Regions from separate parts of the Homo sapiens genome. Here region 2 is linked to region 1. The links are contacts of gene promoters, found by promoter capture Hi-C in human tissues and cell types (Jung and others, 2019). All regions are on one chromosome and are shown on one strand. Each heading gives the region's core, a stretch centred on a gene start or on the middle of the fragment in contact. The rest is flanking DNA. Distances are from core to core; before and after follow the strand shown. Region 1 holds the start of HAVCR1 (hepatitis A virus cellular receptor 1). Region 2 overlaps SGCD (sarcoglycan delta).

What was found. The method cuts DNA at HindIII sites, captures the fragments that hold promoters and counts their contacts. A contact is called where the count stands out against the background at its distance.
Region 2: a fragment that was not itself captured here is called in contact with the fragment with the promoter of HAVCR1 in region 1 in 1 of the 25 tissues and cell types used here (mesenchymal stem cells).

Annotation. Positions count from the first base shown.
Region 1 is chr5:157,055,886-157,060,394 of GRCh38, reverse strand. HAVCR1 (hepatitis A virus cellular receptor 1) reads left to right here and starts at 1,279. Exons shown (of 9, transcript NM_001173393.3): 1 at 1,279-1,474; 2 at 2,440-2,497. The coding sequence starts at 2,452. The HindIII fragment of the contact is 13,602 bases long and covers 1-4,509 here.
Region 2 is chr5:156,360,173-156,364,566 of GRCh38, reverse strand. All of the region lies in intron 3 of SGCD (sarcoglycan delta), which reads right to left. All of the region lies in intron 1 of LOC124901120 (a long non-coding RNA gene), which reads left to right. Among named protein-coding and RNA genes, the nearest start is that of SGCD, 35 kb to the right of the region's middle. The HindIII fragment of the contact is 5,931 bases long and covers 1-4,394 here.

The sequences.
Region 1 (4,509 bases), core at 30-2,529:
ACGGAAAAGGCCTTAGGGTTGAGGCAAGTTGGAAAGAAAGCTCTAGTAGCTGGGGCTGAGTCAGCAGGGGAGAGAGTGGTAGAAGAAATCTATGGGGTAGGTCAGGGCCAGACCACCAGGGCTTCAGTAATTTGAGTAAAGATTTAGGAATTATTATTATTATTATTATTATTATTTTTCTGAGAGAGTTATGAGAGGGTTATAAGTGGGGGAATGATGTAGTCTGATTATATATTTACCTTTACCTCACTTATCCTGATTTCATTAGTTGCTTACTTACCCATGTCCCTGCCCGATTGCACAAGTCTGGATTTTTGACGTCCCTAGTATATTGAGTCATGTCCCATCAGCTCAATATGTTAGTAATAACTGGTTGAATTGAATTAGCTTTTTTTTTTCAATCTTTTTTTCCTTAAGAAACAGGGTCTTGCTCTGTCACCCCGGCTGGTGTGCAGTGGCACAATCATAGCCTCCAACTGCTGGGCTCAAGCAACCCTCCTGCCTCAGCCTCCTGAGTAGCTGGGACTACGGTCAGGTACACAAGGCCTGACTATATTTTTTGTTCGTTTTTTTTGCAGAGAGGGAGTCTTGCTATGTTGCCCAGGTTGGTCTCAAACTCCTTACCTCAGGTGATCCACTTGCCTTGGCCTCCCAAAGTGTTGGGATTACAGGCGTGAGCCACTGTGCCTGGCAAGAAATGAATTTTTATTTTTATTTTTGAGATGGAGTTTTGTTCTTGTTGTCCAGGCTAGAGTGCAATGGCTTGATCTCGGCTCACTGCAACCTCCACCTTCCAGGTTCAAGCAATTCTTCTACCTCAGCCTCCTAAGTAGCTGGGATTACAGGCGCCCGCCACCACCCCCAGCTAATTTTTGTATTTTTAGTAGAGTCGGGGTTTCACCGTGTTAGCCAGGCTGGTCTTGAACTCCCGACCTCAGGTGACTGGCCTACTCGGCCTCCCAAAGTGCTGGGGTTACAGGCACGAGCCACCATGCCCGGTCAAGAAATGAATTTTTAAACGCTGCCATACAAAACACTATGCTGAGATCATCCACTTCCCCATGAACCCTGTCATGAGCTGCAAGATACAGACCACCACTGCCTCCTTGGAAGTTACTGAATTCTTAGACCAGAAGAGGAGTTAATGAAGTACTAGGCAAGCTTACTCATGTTTGTATGGTTTAATGATTAACAGCAGAAGTCAACAGCCCGATTTAACGCATGTGGGTGCTTGACACAGAGCCTGCTATATAGTATTCTCCAAAAACCTCAGCTAGTGCTATTACTGCATATGATGTAGGTTTAGTTTTCCAAGTTCTTCCGTGGCCCTTTTTGCTTATTATATCAATCCTTGGTGGGAGATAGAGGAAGCATTTTTAGTGCTATTTTACAACTGAGGAAATAGAGGTTTGAAGAGAACTCAGGAACTCTCAGGGTTACCCAGCATTGTGAGTGACAGAGCCTGGATCTGAACGTAAGTCTGCTCCAGACTTCTGTTTCCTGAAGCATTCTCTTGAAGTCCCTTGGTAAGGAGGTGTAGTCTGAAGCATGTTGTACAGGAGCATGAAAGGTTAGGCACAGTGATTCACATTCACTCTCAATTTCTCTTGCTAATGGCAAACTTGGCAATATGACTGTTAAGGCTAGGGATAAGTCGTTGTGGCCACTGAGTAGGAAAAGCTCCACGTCCACCAGAGGCCCAGTTTACTCTGAAAAGCAAGTGCATCTCTGCCACTGGAAGGCTGGCATTTGCTCTCGTGCTGCCATTGAGCCACGCTGGTTCTCTGCTTCCAGTTTCCTTTTCTTTTCTTTTTTTTTGTTTTGTTTTTTGAGACGGAGTCTTGCTCTGTCGCCCAGGCTGGAGTGCAGTGGCGCGATCTCGGCTCACCGCAAGCTCCGCCTCCCGCGGGTTCACGCCATTCTCCTGCCTCAGCCTCCCGAGTAGCTGGGACTACAGGCGCCAGTGACCACGCCCGGCTAATTTTTTGTATTTTTAGTAGAGACGGGGTTTCACCCTTTTAGCCAGGATGGTCTCGATCTCCTGACTTCGTGATCTGCCCGCCTTGGCCTCCCAAAGTGCTAGGATTACAGGTTTGAGCCACCGCGCCCGGCCCTGTTTCCTTTTTGTTTGTTCCCCTGATACCCTGTATCAGGACCAGGAGTCAGTTTGGCGGTTATGTGTGGGGAAGAAGCTGGGAAGTCAGGGGCTGTTTCTGTGGACAGCTTTCCCTGTCCTTTGGAAGGCACAGAGCTCTCAGCTGCAGGGAACTAACAGAGCTCTGAAGCCGTTATATGTGGTCTTCTCTCATTTCCAGCAGAGCAGGCTCATATGAATCAACCAACTGGGTGAAAAGATAAGTTGCAATCTGAGATTTAAGACTTGATCAGATACCATCTGGTGGAGGGTACCAACCAGCCTGTCTGCTCATTTTCCTTCAGGCTGATCCCATAATGCATCCTCAAGTGGTCATCTTAAGCCTCATCCTACATCTGGCAGGTAAGTGAGTAGGTGCCCTGGGCGGGAAGAAGGGAGTAGAGGGGGGTTAGAAGCCAGAGAATGGGGTAGGGGAAGGGGAGGGGATGGTGGTGGTGGATTAATGTAGATGTTCTTTGGGTACCGTTGTATGGCTATGAGTTAACTAGTGAGCAGGACCAGAATAAAGTTTTAGGCCAAAGAAATTGCTTAACTGCTGTGAATTACAACATTCATGGCTAAATGAACAAGGCAAGATGCAGCACAGTGTGTCACAGGCTGCCCTTTGTGTTTAAACAAAAAGGGTGTGGTTAGATGTATATGCATAGACACATGTATATAGGAAATAGTGACAGTGGGTAATGTGGGATGGGGGCAGAGGGTGGGAGGTGGAGGGAGAGTTAATCCTTATTGTATTTTTTTGTGCCTTCCGATTTTTTTCAGCCACATTCAATTCTCTTTCTTTCTTTCTTTCTTTCTTTCTTTCTTTCTTTCTTTCTTTCTTTCTTTCTTTCTTTCTTTCTTTCTTTCTTTCCTCTCTCTCTCTCTCTCTCTCTCTTCATGAGGTCTCACTCTGGAGTGCAGTAGGGCAATCTTTTTTTTTTTGAGACAGAGTCTCACTCTGTCGCCCAGGCTAGAGTTCAGTGGCGTGATCTCGGCTCACTGCAGCCTCCGCCTCCTGGGTTCAAGCAATTCTCTGCCTCAGTCTCCCAAGTAGCTGGGATTACAGGTACCTGCCACCACTACCAGCTAATTTTTTTGTATTTTTAGTAGAGACAAGGTTTCCCCATCTTGGCCAAGCTGATCTTGAACTCCTGACCTTGTGATCCACCTGCCTCGGCCTCCCAAAGTGCTGGAATTATAGGCGTGAGTCACCGCGCCTGGCCTAGTTGGGCAATCTTGATTCACTGCAACCTCGACCTCCTGGGCTCAAGTGATTCTCCCACCTCAGTCTCCCAAAGTGCTGGGATTATAGGCGTTAGCCACCACATCTGGCCTAAGTATTTTATTTTGAAATAAACACTTTAATTCAAAACATTCTATGAGATAAGGAAAGAGTAAAATAGACATATCCTAATTTTTAAACACAAATTTCTGGAGTGATATATGCCTTTGGGATTATGGGGGAAAAATAATCTCTCATTATATACTTCTATAACCAAATTGTAATAGCATGCATTATATGTGTAATCCAAAAAAATGATACTAGTATTAGGCAAAATTAAACAAGAATTTCTTGGTGGCCGGGCGTGGTGGCTCACACCTGTAATCCCAGCACTTTGGGAGGCCAAGGCGGGCAGATCACGAGGTCAGGAAATCGAGACCATCCTGGCTAACATGGTGAAACCCCGTCTCTACTAAAAATACAAAAAAATTAGCCGGGCGTGGCGGCGTGTGCCTGTAGTCTCAGCTGCTGGGGAGGCTGAGGCGGGAGAATGGCGTGAACCTGGGAGGCGGAGCTTGCAGTGAGCCGAGATCACACCACTGCACTCCAGCCTGGGCGACAGAGCAAGACTCTGTCTCAAAAAAAAAAAAGAAGAAATTCTTTTTAGAAAGACTTTGTCTAAAAAAAAAAATTAAAAGAATGCTAGCATAGAAAAATGCTTATAATCTCAAATTTTAAAAATTCCAGCTATATCAGCTAACTTGGAAAAAGGGGAAAAACCTTCCAGCTATAATGTCTATTTACAAGGCTGGGCATGGTGGCTCATGCCTGTAATCCCAGCACTTTGGGATGCTCAGGTGGGTGGATCACTTGAGGTCAGGAGTTCAAGACTAGCCTGTCTCTACTAAAAATACAAAAATTAGCCGGGCGTGGTGGCATGTGCCTGTAATCCCAGCTACTTGGGAGGCTGATGCATGAGAATTGCTTGAACCCAGGAGGCGGGGGTAGCAGTGAGCCAAGATCTTTGCGCCACTGCACTACAGCCTGGGTGACAGAGCAAGACTCTGTCTTAAAAAAATAAAAAATAAACAATTAAAAAATGAATAAAATATTTTTTTAAAGAAAGTAAAACAAGTAAAAAAAATTAAGA
Region 2 (4,394 bases), core at 985-3,484, 700 kb after region 1:
ACACACATACTGGATTTCTCCTTTTTCAACTGCTTATAGGTAGCTGCAGCCTAGAAATGGATGAAGGGTTTTTCAATTTATGCAATTGTCAGATATTTTTCCTTCTGCCTATAAGCCATGCACTGCCCCCAAAGCCAAATTTGCAAAGTATTCTTGCTAAGTATTTCATGGATTTCATTGCGCATTAAAAAAAAAAATGTAGCCCTGACACTAATAATAAGATAGGCACCAAAAACATGGTCCTTTTGAATTGATTCTATAAGACTGATTGTTAGTGAACCTTGGAGGAATACAGCAAGGAAGAACACTTTACAGATTCCAAATTCATATATACTGACCATTTTGAGGGAAAAGTCACTTTAAAGTCAAGAGGTTCCCCCAGACTTCTGCTGTCATAATCCCAGCATAACTCAGTAGATTCAGTTCTGAGAGATAGATCTGTGACTGCTTTCTCAGCATCCCCTCCTCTTTCATTTGCAATGACTCATTTTCACTCTGCTGCCCATACCTCCCTGCACAGCCCAGAGGCCTTGAGTATTAGGTGTGGGACTTGTGACTGAGACCACCAAGCCAATGATCATAATCACATTCCCTGGGTACAGTTATTCGTCCAGACCTGGGCATGTGACTCCCGTCAGGCCAATGTGACAGGTAGTGAGTTTTTCTGTGTGCTCCTGGGAAAGACATTTCTGGGTCTTCTGAAAGAGCTCCTGAAGCAATGACATCCCCTTTCCCTTCAACCAGGTAGACAGAAAAAGACAAAATTAATCAATTTCAATCTATATGTAAGATTTATTAGGGAAATAAGGGAACTAATAAGAAAATTTCATTGCCAATCAAAAGTGAAGGCATACTTACAGAGAATAATTTCTTAGAATTAGGCATGGCTTTGTAAATACCTCTGCAAAGGCAACAGCTTATACAGCAAGAGAATCTGGCTCAGTTTACAGTAATGTTATTCTTCTCAGGAAGAGAAATCCTGGAAACAATCAGGATATTTAAAAAAATAATAGCTATTATTTTTGACATTGAGCTGATCAATGAAATTTGAGCTGTCATTCAAATAGACTAAAAAAACCTAGGTAACTTAATGAGAAGAAATAAACTTAGGAGAGCATACCAAAATCATATTTTAAATTATTTTTCTGCTTCCATCAAAACAAAAGCAATGTTATACTTTTTTCACTGCATTTTCAAAACATGAAACGTGGGTTGCAGGGGTAATCACTGACTCCCTTAATAAAATCATAAATCAAAGGAAAGAACAATACTTTTAGAAATACGTGAGTTACCATGGAAGGCTAGAAATGTAGATAAACTGAAATCTGACATTTAGAGGTCAGTAGTGAAGAGGTTATTGTTTACACGGAAAGCTATTTGTGCAATTAACTGAAATTAATTATGCTTGTATAAACTTCATAAACATATCACAGATCTGGATTTTTGACTAATTAAGCTTTAATTTAGCTGCAAAAACTAAACCATATAAGCATTTATCAGAAAACCCTACTCACCCATTAAAAAAAAAAGGTAAAATCATAGATTTTAGAAACCATCTGGAGAAATAAACAATTTAGGGAAAGCTGCAAAGACAGAAATTATAGTCAATTATCCCAGATGTAAAGCCATATTTTGAGGTTATGCTGTCCTTCAATTTCTCAAGAGTACCCCTTAATTAAATGCAAATAATCAGAAATGGCAATTAATATATTGCTATAATTCCCTGATTAGATAGTGGAGTCCATTTACAATGTTTGAAGGTTGCTGTGACTCTGAATAAAGCAAATAGAGTATATGTCATGAAATGCTCCCAAGTATCCCTTATTGGAAAAGTTCTCCATAGTGGTCCATCCCAGAGACTAGCCACGAGGTTCACAGTAGTCACACTATGGAATGCTATTTCTGTTTTTTTCATTTGTTTTGAGATGGAGTCTCTCTCTGTCACCAGGATGGCATGCAGTGGCGTGATCTTGGCTCACTGCAACCTCTGCCTCCCGGGTTCAAGTGATTCTTCTGCCTCAGCCTCTCGAGTAGCTGGGACTACAGATGCGCACCACTACTCCCAGCTAATTTTTATAATTTTAGTAGAGATGGGGTTTCACCATGTTGGCCAGGATGGTTTCAGTCTCTTGACCTCATGATCCGCCCGCCTGGGCCTCCCAAAGTGCTGGCATTACAGGCATGAGCCACCACGTGCCAGCCTCGAATGCTATTTCTAAACCATTTGAACACTCAACCTTTATTGACAAATAGGAATATTGGCTTTGAAGAGGGCTTCCAAGAAGGCAGAGATTTTGAACCACCTGATGTAAGCATCACACCATACAAATCAGAAATAAGCCAGTAAAGGTCAAATGGCCTCTCATGAATGACATAGTGCAGTGTGGAGACTCAAGTACATGTGTGTTGCTTCTTCATTGGCTCCTACTTAGGGTGTGTGTTCCTACAGTGGAGACTGTCTGAATGGCAATTCCCTTTTCTTGACACTACACATAGACAGCCTACTCTAAGTCCTTTCTCAATCAGGGCTTTTGAACTTGCTTTTCCTTCGGCCTAAAATCTTGCCCAGCTCTTCCCATGACTGTCTCAGTATCATTCCTTTAGGCTTCTACTAAAATTTGCCTTTCCAGGGAGGCAAATGCTGATCCATGTCCAAAGTAATCCACATGCAATTTCACGTTGTCATCTCTCTCTGTAGACTTCAGAGGATGCATCACAACCAATAATTATTTTAGTTTACCTCTTTATAGGCCATCTCATGCACCAGAATAGCTATAGTTTACTGTGTTTCACAGAGTCCTATTTTAAGTTGAACCAGCAATAATGTGTACATATAAAATATTTGAGTCACCGTATTTCTTACAGTAATGATGATTTTCAGCAACACCCAAGTTACATATGCTTTTAAGACTCTATTAGTCATTCCTTTAAACATGAGCTTATGACTCTGTGCTGAATTTTAGCAACTGAAACTTATTTTCCTCTTTGTAAGACAATTCTCCAAATGTTTTAAGTTGACAGGGATAAAAACTAGCACTGAGTGCCTACCATACTCTACTTTCTGGTTATCTCTAATCTTTATTACAACTTTTCAACACAAGTATTGCTAATCTCACTAGTACAAATGAGTAAAGGAAGGGTCAGAGAAGATTAGGTACTTTGCCAATAATTGTCTAGATCATCAGTAACAGAGCAGAAGCTTCCAGGTCTGTCTTCTTCAAAACCTGGTAAATTACACTGCTTCTCTCCTAAAATCACATGTATGTGCACATCAGGATTTTTCCGAATCATCCTTTTGGTGCAAGATTTTTCTTGGCCCCTTCATTGGACTTGCAACAGGGGTGCCCTATTATTTGGCTTGCCCACTGTGCTCAACCCCTTGCAGGAGGGAGCGCATGAACAAGCAACTACAGGATCTTGTTGGGCGCTCCAGGCTCCAGCAGGAGCAAGCTCCATATGGGGCCTGCAGCAGCACCCAGGTTAGGGTGCCCATGACCCCGAAGCCCCAGAGGGGCTTACAGCATTACAGTATTCTCTTAGTTCTGCCATCTGCAGGTGGCAGTGTGTTAGCAGCTCAATTGACCCCTTGCCTCAATCATGTGGGGCAGTTGCCCTCTGTCAGTGAGAGCAAACGGCTGGTGTGACAGCCTTTCTGGGTACCTACTCTTGGTGGGCGCCAAGCCCTTGTCTGGCATCCAAGTAGAATGAGGTCATGCAGACAACTGAAGGATGGTGAAGGCTAAGATTTGTATTAAGTGATGAAAATGGCTCTCAGTAGAAAGGGGAGCTGGAGAGGGGATGGGAAGGGTGAGTCGTCTTCCCCCAAAGTCAGGCTGTGTCTTTCACAGTCTGGCCATCTCTTCTCCAAAGTCCAGTGGTCTCCTCAAAGTCTGGCCATCTCCCCCTCTACTGACTGAGTCTGGAGTCTTTATAGGCACAGGATGGGAAGTGTGTGCTGATTGGGTTGTGAGTATGCAATAAAGGTTAAAGTGAAGACAGCACTCAAAGGTGGACACTACAGTGTAAAAAAACCAATTAGGCCTGTAATTCCAGCACTTTGGGAGGCCAAGGCAGGCAGATCACCTGAGGTCAGGAGTTTGAGACCAGCCTGGCCAACATGGTGAAACCCCATCTCTACTAAAAATACAAAAATTAGCCAGGCATGGTGGCAGGTGCCTGTAATCCCAGCTACTCAGGAGGCTGAGGCAAGAAAATTGCTTGAACCAGGGAAGCAGAGGTTGCAGTGAGCCAAGACTGTGCCATTGCACTCCAGCCTGGGTGACAAGAGCAAGACTTTGTCTCCAAAAAAAAAAAAAAAAAATTAGGAAAGGGTAGGTATATGTAAAATAGGCGAAGGGTAGGGATCAACCAGAGGAAAGCACACCAAACAGGAA